2 separate regions of the Homo sapiens genome follow, and region 1 is linked to region 2. The links are contacts of gene promoters, found by promoter capture Hi-C in blood cells and fetal thymus (Javierre and others, 2016). All regions are on one chromosome and are shown on one strand. The core of a region is centred on a gene start or on the middle of the fragment in contact, and the rest is flanking DNA. Distances in the headings are between cores, read along the strand shown. Region 1 overlaps GALK2 (galactokinase 2). Region 2 holds the start of SLC27A2 (solute carrier family 27 member 2).

Region 1 (2,700 bases), core at 179-2,678, 940 kb after region 2:
ATATAAGGAAAAACAGCAACAGTAATTCAGTATTGAATTCAAGGAGTAGTGAAAGCTTCTTTCATTCCCCAGAGAACAAAAGTCTATCAATAGACTTATAATAGTTATAGAAACTACTTATGCAATTCAATTTAGTTGAGACTATATGTGACATTTTATTTAATGACTCTTAGCCACAGAGTAATTCCCTTAAATGCCTTTAATTTTCTTGCCTTGAATGTTCTTTTTCTTGAATATTAATTGATTTGAATATGGAAAAAATATAAAATTGCCTTGAATGTTCTTTTTCTTGAGTATTAATTGATTTGAACAAATATGGAAAAAATATAAAACAATTATAATCCAATTTGTCAAGTAGCAGGACAAGAAATATACAATTATCTGTGAGGTAATTTAAATCTCCATGCAGCACAACTCCAGCATTCTGTTATTATAAAAGTCCAGCCCCCAAGCAGTGACTTGTTTCTAAGGAGTGCCTTACTTTAGAAGGTTCTCTGAAAAAAAGGAGTTCCAAACATTCTCAGTTCTGTTTTACTTATGAAAAAACCTAGGCACCAAGAGATGAAGAAACTTTCCCAAGATGACACATAGGGAGACGAGAGTAGGGCCCAGGTCTCTGAATCCTGTTTGAAAACTTTTCCACTGCAGTTAGAAACCTGAGCCAGCAAACCGTCATTGTGATTTAATATGCCAGCTACATGAGAAAATCCAGATGCTTACTACAGTTTATAGATACAGTTTAGCCATATGGTAGCTTTAAAGATAGTCAAATTAGAATTCAGCCACAAATGAGAATACAGACCCTAAACAAGTTGAGGAAACTCTATTTCTACAAATAGGAAAGCCCAAAGAAATAATCAGATTCTGATTTAAATATGGAAAGCTCTAGTATACTTACATTACTTTCTAACACTAGGACACTTTGGATGATATCATATCATAACCTTTGTGGTTTAAGTTTACAAATAAATTCAAGTCTACCTCCTTCTCAAGAAAAAGTACCATAGTCTTTGCAAATTACTCAAATGACTGAAGATTAACATATGAAATACTATTACCTAATTATGCATTTCATCATACCTATTATACAAGGGAGAATTTCAATCAGCTAGCTAGAATAACTAAAATAACAACAAAATTCTGCAAATAAAAGACCTTTTTCCTTAATTTTTTGTCTGTCTGTCCTAGCTAGCAAAATTCTCGCACCACAATAAGAAGAAATTTAGCTGGGTGTACTTCTCTTCCTGATTTCAAGTCATCTAAAAATTTCCTTCCAGATATACAAACAAACTATAAACTGAAACTCTACTGTTGCCAATGCCCTTTCATACAGAATATCAGACAGCTTGTTTAAAAAAAAAAATTGAAGAATACAATATATTTAATATAAACTGATCAAACACAGGTGTCTTGAGTGGGAATCACACTTAAGAACTTATCAGCCGGGCGCAGTGGCTCACACCTGCAATCCCAGCACTTTGGGAGGCCGAGGCGGGTGGGTCACGAAGTCAGGAGTTCAAGACCAGCCTGGCCAATATAGTGAAACCCCGTCTCTACTAAAAATACAAAAATTAGCCAGGCGCGGTGGCAGGCACCTGTAATCCCAGCTACTAAGGAGGGTGAGGCAGGAGAATCGCTTGAACCCCGGGGGCAGAGGTTGCAGTGAGCCGAGATCACGCCACTACACTCCAGCCTGGGCGACAGAGCAAGACTCCGTCTCAAAAAACAAAAACAAAAACAAAAACAAAAAAACAAAAACAAAAAACAACGTATTATGCAATGTTTAAATGAAAATGTATAACAAATTCAAAATGCAAATGGGTATATGCCACATTCTGTAATAGCTCTATGCCAAAAGGATAACATGTTCAATGTAATATAAGTGAATTATTCTCTGAAACTTTCTAGTATTTGAATTTGAAAGTTTCTGAACAGGCTAGCATTTAAATTACCTTTCTGCCAAAAGTTCATTGTATAAGTTTGCTTTTGCACATAAATTGTCAAACCAAACAGGAAGGCTTTAAAACCTGAAATGCTCAAAAATAACACAAAGCAACATGCATTATTTAGGCCACTTTACCCATATGCTGCAAAAAGGCATGTTGTTACAAGGAAGATTAAAATTGCATTTGCCAGGCAAATGCTTCCAAATACTGTAATTCCCACTAATGCATATGATAAGCCAGATGATTTGAAGATTTAAAACCTGCCAATAACTTTTCCTGTAAGTTATTACCATGTGTCTGAGAGAAAGGAAAACACAAAAGAAAGAAAGAAATGAATTCATTAACTTTAAGAACAAAAACCACCACTGTTACAGTATAGGACTACACATTAGAAATAAATTTGATGTATTTCTGTAATGGATGTGCCACTAAGTCCTAGCTGCTCATTACAAAGTTTCAGATAGGACTGCCAGGCAGTAAGGAACACAAGCTCTCTAAAACATGGGTCAGTTTGTTTGTTTACTTTTAGCTCACAAAGGCAAAATTTACTTCTTATTGTCCTACTATGATTCTATGCAAGTCACTACATCTAAAATAATTATTGCAATATAAAAGTGGCTCTAAAAACAGCAAATATCAATTTTCTTTTGGTCCTTGATACTTTTTCAATTATGAGAGTGAAAACATTTTATTTTCTTGTTCTTGTATGTAACATTAGAGATTTTCAAAGTAATTATTCAATGTTTCTTGGAAA
Region 2 (2,700 bases), core at 37-2,536:
CACCTTTGTTCTGCAGGGAGGGGACAGGATGCTAACAGCAGTTGAGAGCTGGAAGCAACATTGAAGCCTGCCTCATTAGAGAGGAGCAAACCAAGGGACAGAGAGGAGAAGTGACTTTCCCATGATCACACAGCCAGTCAAGCAGCAGAGGTGAGAAGAGCCCCTCTGGATCCACTAGAGTTCGCACTCAAGATCCTCTGCATTTTAATGCAGATGTTATAAGTATTGATTAAGAGCTTGGAATTTGGAGATAGATGGCTGGGCATGAGGCTTCACCTCTCAGGACCTCAGTGGTCTCATCTATAAAAGTCCTATAACAAAGCCTACCCATTGTGAGGATTAAAAACCACACTGCCTGTAGAGTGCTTAACACAGAACCTAGCACATTATCAGCTTCCACAACAGGTGGTCCTAAAAGATCATTATTTGCGATTCAAGGAAACACTGCCAACCTTTTTCTATACCTACAGTTCCGATCTGAACCTCCCTCTGCGAACCCCTTATGCCACGCTGTGGCTCGTCAGTCAAGGCGCCGAGAAGCCCTGGTGCCAGGGCAGGGCGATCCTCGGGGCTCACCTGGCGACACCAGCAGCACCTTCGCCCCGCAGCACTGGAAGCAGTGCAGCAGGGACTTCGCGCGGATGTTGTAATTGAGGCACGCCATGGCACAGCCCAGCTTCACCAGCCCCAGCCACAGCCACACGTAGGCCGGCTCGTTACCCATAAGGAGCGCCACGCAGTCTCCCTGGCGCAGGCCGAGGTGGTCGTGCAGCGCCCGGGCCACTTGATTGCTGCGCCGGTCCACCTGCGCGTAGGTGAGAGTCTCGTCGCGGAAGAGCAGAAAAGGCTTGTGTGGCGTCTGGCGCGCTTTCTCCAGGAACGCCCGCAGGATGGTGCGCGCCGGCCGCCGCTTCCCGTAGCTGCGCACCCTCCGGCCCACGGCGGCCACCTTCAAGAAGTAGCCTATGTCCTGGAAGAAGTATGGGCAGCAGAGGTTCACCAGGAGCGGCAGGAACAGCAGTCCCGCCAGGACTGTGTAGATGGCGGAAAGCATGACGGCTGCGGGGCCCTCTGTCCCAGCGAGGGCAGAGGGTTCACCCCGGGCGTGCAGCGCGGCGACTGGGCGGGCTCCGGGCGGACTGGCGGGCTGCGCCGGGGCGCACGCGGCGGGACGCCGGGCTCGCGTGAGATGAAGGGGAAGACAGAGCTCCTCCGCTGCAGGTACCGCCGCGGGCTCCGGAGCAGGTGTAGTCGTATGCGCGTTGCCGGGGGTTCCGGGCAGGACTGGCCGGCTGAGCCCGCCCCCTTGTGGGGGGCAGCCACCTGCTCTCCCGGCCCTCCCACGCGGTCCTCCCGGGGCTGGGCAGGCTGCCCTGCGGCTCACCAGGAGCCTCGGCCACTTCCCAGCTCGAGTCTGGAGGTCTGGGGTCAAGTCTGGACCTCCTCGCGTTGTGACCGAAGTACTTTACCTCTAGGAGCCACGGTTTCTTTAAATGGTGATGAGACGCGCTTAGCGGACGTTGGGAATATTAAAGGAGATATTGCAGGCGTGGGGCTATTATTTGTTACCACTAATAGAATGGCTTATGGAGATGACACTGTTATTACCGATAAAGTGCCTTATAAATGTCAGACAGTCCTATTATTTATTAATAGCGGGTACCAGGTGCCACTGCCAAACCAGAATCTCATCTCTCCTTCCTGGTCCCAAGGGCTTTCCGCCTGGTCTCTCTTTGTTTCTCAGATTTGCTTCCCAGCCCGACTGCCAGGCGGTCTCCTGTAGCGAAGGCTTCAAGGTTGAACAGAAATGCCTGTGGCAGTCACGTCCAGCTCATCCCAAGCCCTGCCAGGTGAGTGAGGGCAGGACACTCTAACCTAGTCGGCCCTGCCTGGTCGGGGGAGTCCTGATTTCGTGAAGAGCAGTGCTACACCGCACCACCTGAAATCAAGCTTTGACATTATTTTACGATTTTGTTCTGTTAAGTGATCCTGCTGTTCCCTCATGTTGAAAGTTGTCAAGTGTTGTCAGCACAGTTCACACATTTAATAAGTGGCTCTGTCAGAGAATAGTATAGTACAGAGGACATTGAGTAAGTGGTATTGGCATGACTCAAAAACCATTTCTTTTAGAGGAAATGTGAACCTTTCTTTTAATTTGCCTTAGTGCTACTTCTGTACGAAGTGAATGCTCACTACTTGCCACTGAGGAGGGTCAGGATCTAAGTAGTGTTTTATTTTCATCCTCTACTGTCCTCCTGTGTTCCTCTATCTTAATTTGATACGATAAATACAGATAATGCTTATTCCTCCCAGACACGCTGCTAGGAGCTTCCCTATGTTACATTTTGGGAGCCTGAGTTATTTTATACAGGTGGCACTTTCATGCTCATTTACAGACAAGAAAGGGAAGCTTAGGTGAATTGAGACAGCCGGTAAGTAATTCGTGGGTTTTGGAAATGGTATCTGTTTGGTCCCGGGGAACCAACTCTTAGCTTATTCTTAGTAACTATACTATGCTGTCCTCCTATTCTCTAGGTTTCTGTCCATGTCCTCTTTTTTTTTCGGTGTGTGTAAAACACACAAAAATGTTTCACATTCCCTCCAGGCCACCCCCTGCCGTTTTTTAGCCTCCTTTTCGTATCCCTAGTAACTGCGCAAGCAACCTTTCCCTTTTCCTGACTTTTTCATTTCTGATCCAGC

What was found. The method cuts DNA at HindIII sites, captures the fragments that hold promoters and counts their contacts. A CHiCAGO score of 5 or more calls a contact.
Region 1: a contact is called between a fragment that was not itself captured here and the fragment with the promoter of SLC27A2 in region 2, in 3 of 17 cell types (megakaryocytes, monocytes and erythroblasts). The highest score is 11.3, in megakaryocytes.

The regions. Positions count from the first base shown.
Region 1 is chr15:49,236,515-49,239,214 of GRCh38, reverse strand. All of the region lies in intron 4 of GALK2 (galactokinase 2), which reads right to left. Among named protein-coding and RNA genes, the nearest start is that of GALK2, 68 kb to the right of the region's middle. The HindIII fragment of the contact is 2,742 bases long and covers 58-2,700 here.
Region 2 is chr15:50,180,782-50,183,481 of GRCh38, reverse strand. It overlaps SLC27A2 (solute carrier family 27 member 2), which reads right to left and starts at 1,286. Exons shown (of 10, transcript NM_003645.4): 1 at 577-1,286. The coding sequence starts at 1,054. It also overlaps a transcript of ATP8B4 not described here. RefSeq lists silencers at 685-784, 1,055-1,394. The HindIII fragment of the contact is 4,085 bases long and covers 1-1,952 here.